4 separate regions of the Homo sapiens genome follow, and all the other regions are linked to region 4. The links are contacts of gene promoters, found by promoter capture Hi-C in blood cells and fetal thymus (Javierre and others, 2016). All regions are on one chromosome and are shown on one strand. The core of a region is centred on a gene start or on the middle of the fragment in contact, and the rest is flanking DNA. Distances in the headings are between cores, read along the strand shown.

What was found. Contacts are between HindIII fragments. The CHiCAGO score rates a contact against its expected background, and 5 or more counts as called.
Region 1: a fragment that was not itself captured here is called in contact with the fragment with the promoter of RRAGA in region 4 in 5 of 17 cell types (naive CD8 T cells, total CD8 T cells, erythroblasts and 2 more); the score reaches 8.9 in naive CD8 T cells.
Region 2: a fragment that was not itself captured here is called in contact with the fragment with the promoter of RRAGA in region 4 in 1 of 17 cell types (M0 macrophages); the score reaches 5.8 in M0 macrophages.
Region 3: a contact is called between a fragment that was not itself captured here and the fragment with the promoter of RRAGA in region 4, in 1 of 17 cell types (monocytes). The highest score is 6.0, in monocytes.

The regions. Positions count from the first base shown.
Region 1 is chr9:19,298,929-19,301,628 of GRCh38, forward strand. It overlaps DENND4C (DENN domain containing 4C), which reads left to right. Exons shown (of 33, transcript NM_001330640.2): 8 at 301-359; 9 at 1,259-1,403. Among named protein-coding and RNA genes, the nearest start is that of DENND4C, 70 kb to the left of the region's middle. The HindIII fragment of the contact is 2,600 bases long and covers 1-2,599 here.
Region 2 is chr9:19,276,966-19,279,665 of GRCh38, forward strand. The region is part of intron 2 of DENND4C (DENN domain containing 4C); the gene reads left to right. Among named protein-coding and RNA genes, the nearest start is that of DENND4C, 48 kb to the left of the region's middle. The HindIII fragment of the contact is 1,132 bases long and covers 784-1,915 here.
Region 3 is chr9:19,205,421-19,208,120 of GRCh38, forward strand. No RefSeq gene overlaps it. Among named protein-coding and RNA genes, the nearest start is that of DENND4C, 24 kb to the right of the region's middle. The HindIII fragment of the contact is 5,053 bases long and covers 1-2,700 here.
Region 4 is chr9:19,048,169-19,050,868 of GRCh38, forward strand. It overlaps RRAGA (Ras related GTP binding A), which reads left to right and starts at 1,259. Exons shown (of 1, transcript NM_006570.5): 1 at 1,259-2,700. The coding sequence starts at 1,492. The coding sequence ends at 2,433. It also overlaps a transcript of SAXO1 not described here. RefSeq lists an enhancer at 1,199-1,720 and a silencer at 1,328-1,517. The HindIII fragment of the contact is 15,757 bases long and covers 1-2,700 here.

The DNA of each region.
Region 1 (2,700 bases), core at 50-2,549, 250 kb after region 4:
GCTTTTCAGAAGCAGTAGTTCCATAAATTTTAAATAATTGTACTTTAACCAATTAAGTGAATCAAAATTCAGTCAAATTAACCATTTAATGAAAAAGAACTAATGTAACACTTCTGAGTAAATACAGCTATCATTTTATATTTTAGTACCTGTTTCCAAAAGTGTGTTTGCATATTAAATTATTAATGTTTTCAATATTACCTTTGATCTAAATATATAGATTTCAAAAGTAGTTTTGAAACTTATCTCTTGGTTTGGTTAATTTATCTTTGGTTAATTTATCTTTTTTTTTTTTTTAAGCTGTCAGTCCATGATGCATTAATATTATCACAGCCAGTTTCTACACCTTTACCACTAAGGTAATTACTGGTATTTAAAATGATATATTTATTCAGTTGGAGCAGAATGCTTTAAAATATTTTAGTGATTAGTATATTATTAATATATTAGTGATTGTTATTTTACAATTAACTTTATTAGTTAAAACTAGGCAAAAATAGCCTTAATGTTTCTGACTTTGGTAACTGGGTGGATGGTGGGGCTATTTTATAAATGGGAACAATTAAGAGAGTTGCAAGATTGGATGTAGAGGATACTTCCCTTTTCTTCTCATCTCCCCTTCCCATATCCAGTTCATAACTAAAGGTTTAAGGTGAGCTGATTTTAACCTTTTAAATGTCTCAAATCCTTTTACTTCTTTTCATCTGCATCATAGTAGGCTTCCTTGATGTCTTACCAGACTATTTCACTATTAGCCTCTTAATTGGTACCTTTTTACTTATCTTCCTTTAGTTCTTTATCCACCCTGTAGCCAGTGTGTCCTTTTGAAAACGCAAATATAATAGTATATTTCAATTTCAGCCTAATCTGTTGCTGTTTTCACCCTTTCCCTTACTATGCTTTAGTCACAATAGATTTATTTCAATTTCTTGGCTATGACAACAGCTTTTTCTTGCCCCAGGGCCCTTGCATATATTGTCTGTCACCCCTTCACTCCCATCCTTGTCTCCATTCTTCTGAGCTCAACTCAAATGGCTGTTCAGGAAAATCTTTCTTGATAAATGCCTTTTATTACCAGAGGATGAGTTTAAATCACCCCGTTATCTATCTTATTAAATTTGCTACTTTTCATTGATAAATAAGTAAAGACTAGAAATTAACACTAGACTCTCAATCTGTTGATACTTTAATAAGCAAATCTTAACATATTTCAGCAAAATAGTTCACAATGATCTACTTTTCTCTTTTTTTTCCCTAGTGGAGCCAACTTTAGCACCTTGCTAATGAATCTGGGTCCTGAGAATTGTGCAACACTGCTGCTCTTTGTTTTACTTGAGAGTAAAATTCTGCTGCATTCTCTTAGGCCAGCTGTCTTGACTGGGGTAGCTGAAGCTGTTGTAGCTGTAAGTATAGAATTTTCCTTTTAGTACAAAATTACTGACATAATTTTTACTCCAAAGGGAAATTTTCTTCAAAAACAGCAACTTTGTAAACAACAACAAATTTAAAAAAAGGAACTTTGAAAAATTTCCAGCCCAGTAAAAGTTGAATATAATCTGCTGGCAAAGAGAAGTAGGAAATATAAAGAAAACAAAGGTGATTTCTATTTTAGGAAAAACGTCAATTTCCAATTTTTCATATTTTTGAGTTCTTCCCAGAGTAAAAACTATATGATTATATAATAAAACCTGAGAATGAAGCTGGTTGTATTGAGAGGCTCTGGCCAATTTCAGCTGTTCTAAAATTATGCAAATGATTACATGGTTAATTTCTCCCTATTTTAACTTTTAATAATTGTGAATCAGTAATATACAGGAAATTCTAAGTGATTGTGAAATAGGATAATATACAGAGGCTTAGCTCTTGTGTAAAGCGTAAATAAAATTAAATTGTTAAATTGTTAAGAAATTAAAGTTGTTCCCTGCTTAAAACCCTTTGGCTTCCCATTGCACTTAGAATGAAGTCTGATTGACAGGCATGGTGGCTTACACCTGTAATCCCAGCAATTTGGGAGGCTGAGGTAGGCGGATCACCTGAGGTCAGGAGTTCGAGACCAGCCTGACCAATATGGAGAAACCCTGCTCTACTAAAAACACAAAGTTAGCCGGGTGTGGTGGCACATGCCTATAATCCCAGCTACTCAGGAGGCTGAGGCAGGAGAATTGCTTGAACCCAGGAGGCGGAGGTTATGGTGAGCTGAGATCACACCATTGCACTCCAGCCTGGGCAACTAGAGTGAAACTCCGTCTCAAAAAAAAAAAAAAGACTGAAGAATGAAGTCTGATTGTATAGGGCTTTATAGGCCATTGTATAGAACTTTAGATGGTCCACTTCTCCAACCCTATCACCCATTAGTTGTTTAATTTAAAATAGCTGACTCTCTTCTCTTCCCTTCCCCATTTTAAGAATGTAAGTCTCCTGGGAGTAAGGACCTAATCTCTTGTTTACTCCTGTATTTTCAGCACTTGTTACAGTTGCCTAGCACAGAGTAGGCCCTCAGTAAATACTTGTTAAAACAACAAATGGGGTATGTCTCCAAGATCTTAATCTGGTTGAAGAAGTGCTGTTAGGACTGAAAACAATAGTAACCATATGAGAAAGCTTCCAGGAGGATCCTCATTAAGTATTACTTTTCCAAGTCATCACAGTTGTGTGTGAAAGCAAAAGTTGTTAGAATATGAAAATATTTGTTAATGAACT
Region 2 (2,700 bases), core at 100-2,599, 230 kb after region 4:
TTTTCATGAAGTATCTAGTATCTAGTCTACCAGTGAAGGACATTCTTTTTTGTAAATGCCTACAAAGGTCCACCCTTTCCCCAAATGGCTACCTTGACTCTTCTGTAAAAAGGATGTGCTTTTAGAATACCTATAACACTTTACCATATATACATGTGATGTATTGGGGTGTTTTGTTTATTATCATTACCATTACTAAAATATAGATATTTGGGAACATCCTGGCAAGTATTTTAGGATCAGCTTATCTATTTATACAAAATGTGTAGTAGGAATTTTGATAGAGATTACATTAACTTTAGATTAATCTGCAGAGTATTGTCATCTTTACAATATTAAACGATTCAGCTTGTGAACGTGGAATGTTTTCCATTGGTTTAGGTCTTCTTTAATTTCTTTCAGCAACATTGTGTATTTTTTAAATCTGATTAATTTTATTTCTAGGTATTTTATTCTTTTGGATTCTATTATAAATAGTGTTGTTTTCTTAATTTTTGGATTGTTTGTTGCTGGTGTATAGAAATAGCTGATTTTTGTGTGCTAATCTTGCACTCTGCAACTTTGCCGAATTTATTAGTTCTAATAACTTGTGGGTTCTTCGGGATTTTTTTAAATATATAGGATCATGTCATCTGCAAATAGAAATAGTTTTACTCCTTCCTTTGCAGTTTGGATGCTTTGTGTGTGTGTGTGTGTGTGTAATTACTCTGGCTAGAACTTTTAGTATGTTGAATAGCAGTGGTGAAAGCAGGCATCTTGTCTCATTCCTGATTTTAGGTGGAAAGCTTTCAGTCTTTTACTATTGAGTATGATGTTAACTGTAAATATTCCTTAAATACCATTTATCATGTTGAGGAAATGTTCTTCTATTCCTAGTTTTCTGAGAGATTTTATCAGGAAAGTGTGTTAAATTTTGTCAGATGCCTTTTGTCAATTGAGATGATCATGTATTTTTTCTTCCTTTGTTCTCTTAGTGTCATGTATTACATTGATTTTCTTTTGTTGAATCTTTCTTTTAATATAACTATGATACCATACCTTAAAAAATGATTAATTCCTTAATATTATCACATATCCAAATTTTTCTAATTCATGAAGCCTTTTTTTTCTTTTTTTTTTTTTTTTGAACACTTGGTTGCTGGTTGTTCTCTTTTTGTTGTTGTGGTTGTTTTTTGTTTGTTTGTTTTTGAGACAGAGTCTGGCTTCGTTGCCCAGGCTGGAGTGCAGTGGCGCAATCTTGGCTCACTGCAACCTCCGCCTCCCGGGTTCAAGTGATTCTCCTGCCTCAGCCTCTTGAGTAGCTAGGATTACAGGCGTGCACCACTATGCCTGGCTAATTTTTGTATTTTTAGTAGCAGAGACAGGGTTTCACCATATTGGCAAAGCTGGTCTTGAACTCCTGACCTTAGGGGATCTGCCTCCCAAAGTGCTGGGGTTACAAGCGTGAGTTACCACACCTGGCCACTGATTGTTCTCTTTATAGTTGTTCAGGTATTAAGGGGTAGCCATTTGACCACCACTTGTTACGCTCATCACCCACTCTTGTTGCATTAGAGCTCTGGCGAAATTGTTATAAAGATCCTCATACTCCATGGAAGTCGGAATCCACGAAGGAGTGTGTAACAACTCAGGCTGAAAAAGAGAAAAAAGTTTAAAAAGTCCTCATTTTCAAATTTTTAAAACCAAAGGATGATTTGTCTTTATCTTACTTGACCTTTATGCAGCATTCGTTTAACTCCTTTAGTATTGTCCATCCTATTTAGCTACTGTAGTTTTCCTTCAAGTCAGTATAGTTAGGATGGTGATCTTTCAGCTTTATAGGGTCATTGAGCATATGAGCCAGGTTAGAAAGACAGGGTTCAGAAATGACTGGGAATTGGATTAATAAAGGCCCCCTCCACTCTGCCCCCCCAGAAGCTTGACTTTAAGGGAAGGGGAAGATAGTTAAGGGCCTAACTATTCAAATTGTAGCCCATGGACCAGTATTGTCCAAAAGACCTGGAAGCTTGTTAGAAACTCAGAAACTTAGGCACTATTCCAGACCTACTGAATCACAATCTGTATTCTGGTCCAGTGTGGTGGCTTACACTGTAATCCCAGCTAACCTGTAATCCCAGCACTTTGGGAGGCCGAGGCAAGCGGATCACAAGGTCAAGGGATCAAGACCATCCTGGCCAACATGATGAAACCCCATCTCTACTAAAAATACAAAAATTAGCTGGGTGTGGCAGTGTGCGCCTGTAGTCCCAGCTACTCAGGAGGCTGAGGCAGGAGAATCACTTGAACCCGGGAGGCGGAGGTTGCAGTGAACCAAGATCACACCACTGCACTCCAGCCTCCCTAATCCCAACGCTTTGGGAGGCTGAGGTGGGAGGAGGATTGCTTGAGGCCAGGAGTTCACAAAAAATAAAAATAAAAATGAGCAAGGGCCCGGTGTGGTGGTTCACGCCTGTAATCCCAGCACTTTGGGAGGCGGAGGCAAGCCGATCACTTGTGGTCAGGAGTTCAAGACCAGCCTGTCCAACATGGTGAAACCCCCTCTTTACTAAAAAAATACAAAAATTAGTTGGGCATGGTGGCGAGCACCTGTAGTTCCTGCTACTTGGGAGGCTGAGGCAGGAGAATCACTTGAACCCAGGAGGTGGAGGTTGCAGTGAGCCAAGATTGTGCCACTGGGCTCCAGTCTGGGCAACAGAGTGA
Region 3 (2,700 bases), core at 113-2,612, 160 kb after region 4:
CCGTCTCTACTAAAATACAAAAAAAAAATTAGCCGGGCATGGTGGCATGCACCTTTAATCCCAGCTACTTGGGAGGCTGAGGCAGGGGAATCGCTTGAACCCAGGAGGTGGAGACTGCAGTGAGCCGAGATCACGCCATTGCACTCCAGCCTGGCAACAGAGCAAGACTCCATCTCAAAAAAAAAAAAAAAAACAATAATAATAATAATAATAATAAAAGACCATCCCAGAAAACAAAGTGAGGTCCTGTTTCTACAAAAAAATTTTTAAAAAATCAGCTGATTATGGTGGCACATGCCTGTAGTCCCAGCTACTTGGGAGGCTGAGGTAAGAGGATTGCTTGAGCGAGCAGTTGGAGGCTGCAGTGAGCTATGATTGCACCACTGCACTCTAGCGTAGGCAACAGAGTGAGATCCTTCTGGAAAAAAAGAAAAACAACTGCACATTATTGGCATGGCGGTATGCTAGGACCACACTAGGCTGTAAACTCCGTGAGGGCAGGAACCATGCCTGGTTTGTTCAACACAATATCCCCAGCATGAATTTGGCATGCACCTAACATATGGCTCAGGAAATATCTGAAATGAAATATCTGAATATTTGAATGAAAGACAAGTTGAAGTGAATGAAAGGCAAGTTGATTCTCCATGAACATATCATTTTCAGGTATGTTCTCCACGGACATACCTGAAAATGGAATAGACATTAGCTGCACTTAGATGAAACTACTCTGCTTTAATCCCTGGATTTTCATGAAATCAAGGATGAATTTACCTGACATTGAAAAGGACCATGAATCTTGTGTGAGTTGATATCGTATGATGTTTATCATCATAACTTAATTGTTTTACATTGAATTTTAATATTTATTTTTTAATTTTAATTTAATTTTATTTATTTTGAGATGGAGTCTCGCTCTGTCGCCCAGGCTGGAGTGCAGTGGCTCGATCTCGGCTCACTGCAACCTCCGCCTCCTGGGTTCACGCCATTCTCCTGCCTCAGCCTCCCGAGTAGCTGGGACTACAGGCGCCTGCCACCACACCTGGCTAATTTTTTATATTTTTAGTAGAGATGTGGTTTCACCATATTAGCCAGGATGGTCTCGATCTCCTGACCTTGTGATCTGCCCGCCTTGGCCTCCCAAAATGCTGGGATTACAGGCGTAGGCCACCGCGCCTGGCCTTTTAATTTTTATTTTTTTGAGACAGTTTCAGAAAAGAAGTTTCACTCTGTCACCCAGGCTGGAGTGCAGTGGGGCAATCTCAGCTCACTCCAACCTCTGCCTCCCGGGTTCAAGTGATTCTTCTGCCTTAACCTCCCAAGTAGTTGGGATTACAGGCATGCACCAAAAAACCCAGCTAATTTTTGTATTTTAGTAGAGACATGGTTTCACGATGTTGGCCAGGTATGGTTATTATTATTTTTTTTTAGGGACAGATTATCACTATGCTGCCCAGGCTGGCCTTGAACTCCTGGGCTCAAGCAATCCTCCTGCCTTAGTCTTGCAAAGTTCTTAGGGTTACAGGTGTTAGCCACTATGCCCAGCCTAGTTCAATAATTTCAACTTTACCATAATATGAGGAAAACTTGAGCGTAATATTGGTCTGTCTTATCTGTTCCAGTTTCTCAAATACTTTTTATTTTTACAGAAAGGGTCTTGCTCTGTCACCTAAGCTGGAGTGCAGTGGCATGATCATAGCTCACTGTGGCCTCAAACTCCTGAGCTCAAGCCACACTCTTGCCTCAGCCTGCAAAGAGCTGGGATTACAAGTGTGAGCCACTGTGCCCGGCATAGTTTCTGAAATGCTTTTAGAAATGCTACTTATAGCAGCATTAGCTGTAAAAAAGGCCCTGTATGTGAGTCCTGCCATGGGAGGCTTGGGCAAATACTGGGGAAACAGGAAGTTTATCTTTGGCCCTTTCAGGATTAAAAAAAAGAAAAATTTGAGTGTAATATTTGATACATACAAAAGAATGTGTTGTTAAATATAATAGAATAAACACTCTGCTTAAGAACAAGAACATTATCAATATGAGGATTTACTTCCTTTTGGGATCTTATGCGAATTTCTGAAAAGGTCTGGGTTCTAGCTGCCTAGCATTAACATAAAAGGTTTGAGAAATATACATTCAATAAGCTGCTATCTGATAATGGCTTTAGATTTTTCTCATCTTTGAGTGTATAATTTTTTTTTAGTTTTATTTTGTAGAGGCAGAGTCGTGCTATGTTGCCCAGGCTTGTATCAAACTCCTGGCCTTAAGCAATCAGCCTCCTAAAGTGTTGGGATTACAGGTGTGAGCCACCACACCTGGCCTCATAAAAATTGCTATAGCATTTTTTTTCTGATAATAGAAGTGTATATCTTTCCTGTAGAAAAATTTTAAAATAGGTTAAAGTATGAAGAATATAAAAATAACCATTATATCCATTCTCTCCAGAAAATTATTGTTAACCTTTTAAAACACACACACACACACACACACACACACACACACACACACACACACACGAATACATTTTAATAGCTAGCTTGAGTTCCTTTCAAGACAAAAAGATATGAATATTTCTTGTGGAATTTCAGGCACTGTTGCAAGCTGGCGGGAAATCTATCTGGGGTAAAAATCTTCTCAAATTGTAGCAAAGTATTTGCATTTCCAGAAAGACAGCATTATATTGATATTCCCAAATAGTCAGATATT
Region 4 (2,700 bases), core at 9-2,508:
TTGATAAGGGCTTTAGGCCAGGCACGGTGGCTCACGCCTGTAATCCCACACTTTAGGAGGCCGAGGCAGGTGGCTGGCTTGAGTTCCAGACCAGCCTGGCCAACATAGTGAAACCCCGTCTCCACTAAAAATACAAAAATTAGCCGGGCGTGGTGGCAGGTGCCCACAATCCCAGCTATTTGGGGGACTGAGGCAGGAGAATCGCTTGAACTCAGGAGGCGTAGGTTGCAGTGAGCTGAGATCGCGCCACTGCACTCCAGCCTGGGCAACAGAGTGAGACTCCGTCTCAAAAGAAAAAAAAAGGACTTTAAGGTAGATACAGAGGCTTCAGTATCCTGATGACTCTCATTCATTCTGTATGAACGATACTGGCGACACTGATTCACTCATCTACTTGAAGACCAAGAGCAGAATCATATTATGCTTTGAGAGGGGCACAGGGTAGCCTATTGTTAGGCAAATAGACCGCAGCAAGATTGTCTAAAACCAAATTCCATTTCATCATTTAGTATCTGTGTAACTTGGTCAAGTGACTTAACCTCTCTAACCTTTGATTCCCTAACTTGAAAATAGGGTTATTAATTCACAGGGTTACTGTGAGGATGGAACTAATGCCTGGGATTCCACATTATCATTTCCTCGAGCTTTGGAATTCTAATTATAAATTCTAAAGTCTGAGATTACGGAAAAGCAGATGTGAGAAAGGAATTAAAAGCACCCACTGGAAGCCAGGATGTCTCCTAGGAGGGACTTGCTATTACCTAGCTGCGCAGCAACAGGCAATCGCTTGCCTACAAGTCTCACTTTCCGCGCCTGCACAGTCTCCATCTGCCCTGCCCTTGTACTCACTGGGCCGGGCAAGCTGGGGAGGCCTAAGCGGACTGGGAAGTTAGGCTTTCCCTCCACTTCACCAGTCGGCTGCCCCTGCGGAAACCGGCCCGACACACCTCGCTCCTAAAGCCAGTTGCGGTGGTGGTGGCGGTTGGGGCTTTTTTTGGCCACGAGAGGGCAGCATTTCCCCCGGCCAACCACACACGTACCCCTAGCAACAGCAAACCCAGCTGCAACAGAACAAAAGACCGAAGTCCTCGAGCTTCCCTTCCATCTTAGGGCTCACGCCGCCCCGGTTAGGTTTCATTAGAGCAGCGGCTTTTCAAGGCTCGTCGGGCACGGAGGGCGGAGCGAGGGAGCTCTCGCGAGATCGCCGCCGGAAGTGGGTGGTGGCGGGGACGCAGCGGCTCCCTCCCGGAAAGCGAGCGTATCTCCCGAGCCGTTGCCACTGACAGCCGCGGGCGCTCCCATCTGAGTAAGAGCCAGCCCGTCCGCGGCCTCTCCAGCCCCGGGTTCGCGCTCTCGACTCTCCTGCCTGCCCAGCTGCGCGGCGGAGCGGAGCGAGGCGCGGCCTGCGAGTCCCCGGCAGCCCCCGACCCCTCCCTCGGCGCTGCGTGTAGGCCGCGCCCTCAGGCCCAGTCCGCGGTGCCCCGGCGGGTGATGCCAAATACAGCCATGAAGAAAAAGGTGCTGCTGATGGGGAAGAGCGGGTCGGGGAAGACCAGCATGAGGTCGATAATCTTCGCCAATTACATTGCTCGCGACACCCGGCGCCTGGGGGCCACCATTGACGTGGAACACTCCCACGTCCGATTCCTAGGGAACCTGGTGCTGAACCTGTGGGACTGTGGCGGTCAGGACACCTTCATGGAAAATTACTTCACCAGCCAGCGAGACAATATCTTCCGTAACGTGGAAGTTTTGATTTACGTGTTTGACGTGGAGAGCCGCGAACTGGAAAAGGACATGCATTATTACCAGTCGTGTCTGGAGGCCATCCTCCAGAACTCTCCTGACGCCAAAATCTTCTGCCTGGTGCACAAAATGGATCTGGTTCAGGAGGATCAGCGTGACCTGATTTTTAAAGAGCGAGAGGAAGACCTGAGGCGTCTGTCTCGCCCGCTGGAGTGTGCTTGTTTTCGAACGTCCATCTGGGATGAGACGCTCTACAAAGCCTGGTCCAGCATCGTCTACCAGCTGATTCCCAACGTTCAGCAGCTGGAGATGAACCTCAGGAATTTTGCCCAAATCATTGAGGCCGATGAAGTTCTGCTGTTCGAAAGAGCTACATTCTTGGTTATTTCCCACTACCAGTGCAAAGAGCAGCGCGACGTCCACCGGTTTGAGAAGATCAGCAACATCATCAAACAGTTCAAGCTGAGCTGCAGTAAATTGGCCGCTTCCTTCCAGAGCATGGAAGTTAGGAATTCCAACTTCGCTGCTTTCATCGACATCTTCACCTCAAATACGTACGTGATGGTGGTCATGTCAGATCCGTCGATCCCTTCTGCGGCCACTCTGATCAACATTCGCAATGCCCGGAAACACTTTGAGAAGCTGGAGAGAGTGGATGGCCCCAAGCACAGTCTCCTTATGCGTTGAATATTGCCAAATGCTCTTTCTGAAAATGCTGAATTGCCTTTTTTGTTTGCATCCTTTATTTTTAATATTCATAATGTCGTGTGCTTAAAAGTGGGCTTTGAAGTGTGTGCTGCTTACTCCTTTCATCTTTCTCCCCGCTTCCCCAGTCTTTAAACATTGGACGCTATTTACTCAGCTACCCAGTAGAGCTTGAAGCTGACCTTTCTGAGAAGTTGGTATGGTGTAACACTAAAGTAGGTGGTTCGTGTGTGTTCTCATTACCTGGTT